2 separate regions of the Homo sapiens genome follow, and region 1 is linked to region 2. Evidence: promoter capture Hi-C in human tissues and cell types (Jung and others, 2019). All regions are on one chromosome and are shown on one strand. Each heading gives the region's core, a stretch centred on a gene start or on the middle of the fragment in contact. The rest is flanking DNA. Distances are from core to core; before and after follow the strand shown.

Evidence for each region. The method cuts DNA at HindIII sites, captures the fragments that hold promoters and counts their contacts. A contact is called where the count stands out against the background at its distance.
Region 1: a contact is called between a fragment that was not itself captured here and the fragment with the promoter of MGAT5B in region 2, in 9 of the 25 tissues and cell types used here (heart left ventricle, liver, lymphoblastoid cells and 6 more).

Annotation. Positions count from the first base shown.
Region 1 is chr17:77,105,568-77,109,131 of GRCh38, reverse strand. It overlaps a transcript of SEC14L1 not described here. Among named protein-coding and RNA genes, the nearest start is that of MIR6516, 18 kb to the right of the region's middle. RefSeq lists enhancers at 1,261-1,590, 1,704-2,368, 2,431-2,480. The HindIII fragment of the contact is 6,923 bases long and covers 1-3,564 here.
Region 2 is chr17:76,866,252-76,870,006 of GRCh38, reverse strand. It overlaps MGAT5B (alpha-1,6-mannosylglycoprotein 6-beta-N-acetylglucosaminyltransferase B), which reads right to left and starts at 1,603. Exons shown (of 18, transcript NM_001199172.2): 1 at 910-1,603. The coding sequence starts at 977. RefSeq lists a silencer at 1,459-1,768 and an enhancer at 2,106-2,400. The HindIII fragment of the contact is 29,656 bases long and covers 1-3,755 here.

The sequences.
Region 1 (3,564 bases), core at 504-3,003, 240 kb before region 2:
CCAAACCCCAGGCTGGGTGCGGTGGCTCACGCCTGTAATCCCAGCACTTTGGGAGGCCAAGGCAGGATGATCACCTGAGGTCAGAAGTTTGAGTCCAGCCTGACCAACATGGTGAAACCCCATCTCTACTAAAAATACAAAAATTAGCTGGTGTGGTGGCTGGCACCTGTAATCCCAGCTACTTGGGAGGCTGAGCCAGAAGACTCGCTTGAAACCGGGAGGCAGAGGTTGCAGTGAGCTGAGATCAAGCCACTGCAGTTCAGCCTGGGTGACAGAACCAAACTCTGTCTCAAAAAAAAAAAAAGAAACAGATGACATATACATTCTTTTTTTTTTTTTTTTTTGGAGACAGAGATGAATGTATATATACATGTCAGCTGTTTCTTTTTTTTTGAGACAGAGCCTGGCTCTGTCGGCCACACTGGAATGCAGTGGCATGATCTTGGCTCACTGCAACTTCCGCCTCCCAGGTTCAAGCGATCCTCCTGCCTCAGCCTCCTGAGTAGCCCAGACTACAGGCATGCACCACCATGACTGGCTAATATTTTTGTATTTTTAGTAGAGACAGGGTTTCGCCATGTTGCCCAAGCTGGTCTCAAACTCCTGACCTCAAGCCATCTGCCCGCCTCTGCTCCCAAAGTGCTGGGATTACAGGCGTGAGCCACCACACCTGGCCTATACATTCATATTCTATGCTGGGGTCCCATCCCTCTGGCCCTCTGTTTCAGTTACCTGTGGGAAGAACCCACACGAACCATAGGGCTGCCACCTCCCAACTGTCCAGAGGAGACACACTGGACCCAGGTCTGTAGCAAGGGCTTCCTGCCGGACAGAACTGGGTTATGACGACCACGTTTAATGCAGAAACTCGGGACTCTGGATGGGGAAAGTGGAGCTCAGATAGTGCCGAGATGAGTCATCACCATGGGCTTTATTGAGCACATTTATATGGCAGCACTGCACACTCGCCCAAACAGCTGGAGGAAAGCTGCTCAAATGGGGAGAATCTAAGTCCGTGTGTGTGTGCGTGCGCATGGTATGGGGGGGCATGGAACAGGGGGCTGAAAACTGACACAAACATTTATACTGGCTGGGAGCAGTGGCTCACACCTGTAATTTTAACACTTTGGGAGGCGGAGGTGAGAGGATCGCTGGAGCCCAGGAGTTTGAGACCAGCCTGGGCAACATAGTGAGACCCCGTCTCTGTTTTTAAATAAATAAATAAAAAGTCAATACCAAATTGTGTTCAGAGACTGTGGGCTAAAACCAGCCAGCATGGCTCCTTTCTCAAAGGGACTTTCAGGCATCTGTGATAGTGTCAGCAAGCTCCAAGTAAAGCTTGAAAACCAACTCAGCCGTCAGCGCGTGGGAAACCTTTAGAACGCCACTGTGGAGAAGCCTTTGCTGTTGTTGCAAGAAAGTCAAGGAGGGCACCTTTACGTCACCGGGAATCCCCCAAGCCCCTCGGTGTGTGAGGAGGTTGCGGTTTATTCTGCCATCCACCGTTGTGGGTGGGGATCTTCTGACCTGGTCTACGGACTCCTGTATCTCATTTCTCTTTCCTGTTTTCTTGGACTTTCTCAATCTCTCTCCCCCTCTCTCCTTTTCATCTATGTCTTCATTAACTAGCATAACATAGAATAGAAATATATAATAGATTTTTTGTTTACTGAAAATACTTTTGAATTTTTTTCCATTTTTCATTAGTTTGAAACTACACGAAGGAGACTCTTTCTTTTCGTTCCTACCCAGCGCTCAATAGCTGTGTGACCTTGGCAAGTGATCGTCCCTGAGCCTCCATCCCTGTCTTTAAAGTGGAGATAAGGATGCCAGTCTCAGAAACTGTTCTGAGGATTAAATACCCAGAGCCTGGTGCCTGGAGCCTGGACCCCGGAGCCCGGAGCCTGGCGTGGGCTAAGTGGTCCTGAAGTGGAAGTGAGTTTTTGTTTGTGGCTCTTTGTTCTTTCCCCTGTGGGTCCACGGTGGTTGGCTGAATAAATTAGATTCTCCCCTGCCCCAGACTCTCAAGTCATTAAAGCTCTTCATTGATCAGCTGCTTCTCTCCAGTACTTAAGTGATCCTTGATGGTATATTACACCCCATGGGGGATGTGTGAACTCTTTTAGGTGATATGCAAATTACTGCTTTTCTGCAAAATGCCACCCTGGTGGCCGGATACAAGCATTCATGGGGAGTCAGCAAGGTGAACAGCAAAGAAAAGCCCGGGGCTGGAGAAGGAGAACGCAGCCTATTTCTCTCCTGAGAACCAAATAATTTTTCTTTTTTATTTTTTTTGAGAAAGGGTCTCACTCTGTTGCCTAGGTTGGAGTGCAGTGGCGCCACCAGGGCTCACTGCAGCCTCAACTTCCTGGGCTTAAGTGATTTTTCTCACTTCAGCCTCCTGAGTAGCTGGGACCACAGGTGCGGGCCACCACACCCAGCTAATTTATTTATTTATTTATTTTTTGAGATGGAGTCTCGCTGTGTTGCCCAGGTAGAGATGGGCTTTCACTATGTTAGCCAGGCTGGTCTCGAACTCCTGACCTCAGGTGATCCACCCGCCTCAGCCTCCCATAATTTTTTTGTTGTTTTATCTTTTTGAGATAAAGTCTCACTCTGTTGCCCAGGCTGGAGTGCAGTGACACGATCTCGGCTCACTGCAACCTCCGCCTCCCGGGTTCAAGCGATTCTCCTGCCTCAGTCTCCCGAGTAGCTGGGACTTCAGGTGCGTGCCACCACGTCCAGCTAATTTTTGTATTTTTAGTAGAGACGGGGTTTCACCATATTGGCCAGGCTGGTCTCAAACTCCTGACCTTGTGATCCGCCCACCTTAGCCTCCCAAAGTGCTGGGATTACAGGTGTGAGCCACCACACCTGGCCTCCTATAATTTTGAAATTATTTGTAGAAGACAGTCTCACTATGCTGCTCAGGCTGGTCTCCAACTCCTGGGCTCAAGCCATCCGCCAACCTCGGCTTCCCCAAGTGCTGGGATTACAGGCGAGAGCCACCATGCCCTGCCAGAACCAAATAATTTCAATGTCCCCTGGCCACGGAGAAGGAAAGTACAGGGTGATTTCCTTGATTCGTGGCAAAATTAGGTAGACGAACTGATATCCAGACTGACTTTTCCTTTTTTTTTTTTTCCTCTGAACTCTACTTATCTGCTTAAAAACAGAATCTCTCAAAATAATTCAACTGTCACAAATCCCCTCCCTGGGGCTTTTTAGGGAGTTTTGCACTAGGGAAGATTGTCTCCTCTCACCAGTCCCTCACCAGGATAAGCAATCACCTAAACAGCTGTTGTCACAAGACTAACATAAATCCCACCTGTGCTCCTCTGGGCCCATTCATCCTTCCTAAGAGTCCCCTGCTTCATGAAGATGGTATACAAGCCCCAGATCCTAACCACTTAACCTTGAGTCACATTTTTCTGTGAACTCTGGTGTACATGAATGTTTAAAAGTCTTTTCTCCTGTGAATCTTTCTTTGGTCAGTTTAATTTGCAGGCCTCCAACCATGAACATGAGGGTAAAGTTTTTCCTCCCTGACACAGGAGTTCACAT
Region 2 (3,755 bases), core at 354-2,853:
AGCTACCCACGGGGTGACACTCGGGCCCCGCCGGGCGTCCACTGGGCAGCGCCCCCTCCCCACCCCGCTGCGGGCCGGTTCCGCGGATGCCTGGGAGGAGAGGGGGCTGCCCCGGCACCGCTGGGCCCTGGGGGCCCCTGGCTGGGTCCAGTGAGTCCCGCGCGGCCCCAGCCCTGCCTGGCCTGGGCCCCCAGGTGTTGGCCGCCCGAAGCGTGTCGCCTTCGCCACCGCCCGCCCACCACGCTCCGCCGCAGCCTCGGCTCCAGCCGCCCCGTAGCCCTGCAGCGCCGCCCCTGCCCCCGCCTCTCCGACGCCTGCGATCGGGGGCGAATCCTGGGATGAGCGAGTCCTCGCTCTAATCTCGGGACCCTCTCGTCGGAGCCAGGCCCGAGCCCCGCGGGGAGGAGAGCAGTGCCACCAAAGGCTGGGGAGAGGGTGGCACAGGCGGAGGGGTTGGGGGGTAGCCGACCTAGGGGCAGACGGGCGGGACGGGAGGGACCGGAGGGGGAGCTCCAAGGCGCCGCACACTAACTTTGCCACCCGGATGGGACCGTCCGCGGGGTGAGGAAGGACCCTGAGGGGCTGGGAAGGGGCGCGCAGGCTGGGGCAACTTTCTGGGCCCAGGACCACGACCTGGGGGTTTTCTGCCCCCATTCTTACCTCTGCACCCCGAGTCCTCTCCAACCCTGCCCAACTCGGGACAGGTCCCCGAATAACACAACCCTCCCCATCCGCACCCCGAACCCCAACGCCATCCGTTCCCCCAGCCCAGCCCCACTGGTCATCACCAGGGGTTGAAGTGTGAACCGCCCCCTCTGCCACCAGGACTTGAACGTTCGCAGGAACCGACCTCGCCCACCTCCACCCGGCGCCCCCCTGGGGAAAAAACCAACCAGGAGGGAACTTTACCGAAAGGGTCTCAGGGTGACCAGGCATCTTCTGACCATTATCTTCCCATCGGGGTTGACGGTGATCATTGTTCAAACTTGTTGGTGCGAGCAGCCGCGGGCGAGGCCGGACGCACCGTCCTGGGCCCAGCTCTCGCCGCGTCCGGGCCACGAACCCTCTGCGGGCCGAAGCCGCGTCCGAGCGAAGCTGGGAGCGCGCGGCCCGGTGGCCTCGCTGCTCAGGCCTGGGCGTGCAGCGGAGGGAGCGGCGCGGCTGCCGGAGGGCGGCGAGGGCGCCCGGCCGGGCCGTCTCTGCGTCTCCGCCCTCCCCGCTTCACATTTTGGGGACCGGGAGGCGGCGCGCCCCCAGACCGCCGGCCGCGCGTCTGCCTGCTCGGGCTCGCTCGCTGGGCGGGAAGGTGCCGCGGCGCGCAGACGGGCTCCCCGCGGCGGGCGCCCTCATCCCCGGCCCCGCGCCCTCGGTGCCGGCTAAAGGCGGCCCCGGGCCCGCGCCCCGGTCCCCAGCGCCTCCGGGCCGCGCCGATCCTCAGCCCCGCGCCGCGCCGCGCCCATGGCTCTCGACGAGGGCAACCCGCGCCCGCCGCGCGCTCTCTCGCCCGCTGGCTCCGCCGCCCGCGCTCTGGTGTCCGGCGTCCGGCCCCGCGCGACGCTACGCCCGGAGGCGCCGCATTGTTCCTCGGAGGAGGCGGCCGAGCGGCGCTGGGGCGGCCCGGGAGCTGCAGCTGCGCTTCCAAGGCGCGCCGGCGCCACCTCGTGGCCGCAGCCCCGCTGTGCGCCCTGCCCGGGGCCGTGCGGGGCTGGGACGCCGAGGACCAGCTTCGAGGACGGGCGGGCGGGGGTCCCTGCTCCTTCCCCTGAGCCAAGCAGCTTCCCAGGGCGCCACCAGCCCCGAGGGCCGAAAGCTGCTTTGGCTCCCGCAGAGCACAGAAGAGATGCGCACCCAGCGGAGACCCTTCTCTTCTGCCAGGTGCCTCCGTGGGCTTCCTCATCAGCCGCTTCCCACGATTTCGCTTGGCAACACATGCCTATCTTCTGCCCCTCCCTGGTCAGAAACTCCCGTGGCTCCTCTTTGCTTACTGATCTGAGTATAAACTCGGCCTGTGGTGCTGGGGCCCGCTCACAGAGCCAGGCGCAGGGGCGTACTGAGTTGTAGCCCCAGATCCTCCACTAGCCAGTGGGCGATCAAGTGTGCACGTCTCAGAGTCTCCATTATGAAATGATAGTGACCAGAAGCTCACCAAGGTCCCTTGCAACCCTAAAGCATGTAGGATCTCATGTCGTCTCTTAGCATCTAGGCGTCCTCCCCTCCCCCTCCTCGTACTTCCTGGCTCTGGAGATGTGTTTGCAGTTGCAGAGACAGAGACTCCTGGGAGCTCGCAGAGCCAGCCTGAAGAAAGCTCTCCGGCTTCAAAAGCACTTCCCGAGGTCATATCTGACCACCCCACCCTGGGAAGTGCCCAAAGCCTCAGTCATGTGTCAAATGACTCTGAGGGTCTTCCCAGCTCAGGCCACGATGCTGCAGCCTGGCTTATGCGAGGAGGAGACTTTATTTTCCTCCAGCTGGGCCTGGTCCCCTCCAATCCCCCATACCCAGGCCCCTTGCTGCCTGCCCTGCCCACCTCCCGGCCCCCTTCCTGGGCCATTACTCACTGGCCATGACTCACGCTCTCTGCTTTGCTGCTCCTTCTTCATCAAAATTTACCGGTGCTGAGTTCCATTATCTCACTGCCTTGCTCTCTGCTAATGTGAAAATGGGTGATAAATTGGTGTTAGCAGATATAATGTGTTACACAGGCTAGGTAACAAATTTGCATTGAACAAGGACATGCTGACCGTGCCTTTGTGCAGAAGAGTGATGAATGGTGGCCGGAAATTTGGGCATCGTGGCAGGCTGGCTAAGGAGATGTTGGAGGGCAGAGGTCTCTGCCAGGCCTGTAAATCACATCTCATGCCTGGGTGCCTACATCTGCCACAAATCCTGGCAATAAGCCATATCTACACTAAGGAATGAAATGGTCCTTCTGATTAGGTGTCTCTCTTCTGATTGGGGGTTCTTCTGATTGAGTAGGCTTAGGGGGTGGCATTTATATCTGGTTGCCATTTTAGGCCAAAGGGGAAGCCTCTTCCTCAGTGGTGGAGATGGGGTTCCCTAGAAGGCATGGCCACCTCTGGTGTGGGTCATCTGGGGAGGTGGCCTACCCTCCACAGAAGCCAGAATTTAGAAGGTAGGGGAAGGTACTCCCCTCTTCCCCTGGGCCACACACCCTTAGATCTGGACTTTGAAGTTGGAGCGGGAAAGCCTCTCTGCCATTTGACGGCTGGCTTGGGCCAGGGAGGGAAGCAAGCAGAGGACAGCCAGTGACTTTTTTTTTTTTTTTTTTTTTTTTTTGAGATGGAGTCTCGCTCTGTTTCCCAGGCTGGAGTACAGTGGCGCAATCTCGGCTCACTGCAAACTCCGCCTTTTGGGTTCAAGAGATTCTTCTGCCTCAGCCTCTTGAGTAGCTGGGATTACAGGCACGTGCCACGATACCTGTAATAAATGCCTATAAAAATGCAAAATTTTTGTATTTTTAGTAGAGACAGGTTTCGCCATGTTGGCCAGGCTGCTCTCAAACTCCTGACCTCAAGTGATCCGCTTGCCTCGGCCTCCCAAAGTGCTGGTATTACAGGCATGAGCCACTATGCTGGGCCAGCCAGTGGCATTTTGCAAGCCAGATTGTCCAGCTGCCTGTCCCTTTTGAAGTCTGTCCCCTTTTTTTGGCCTCTTGTCTGCAGTAAAGTTCAGTGTAAACAGTCCTGCTTGCTCTCCACTGTGCTGTAGGCATTAGGAGAAAAACTGTGAATCCC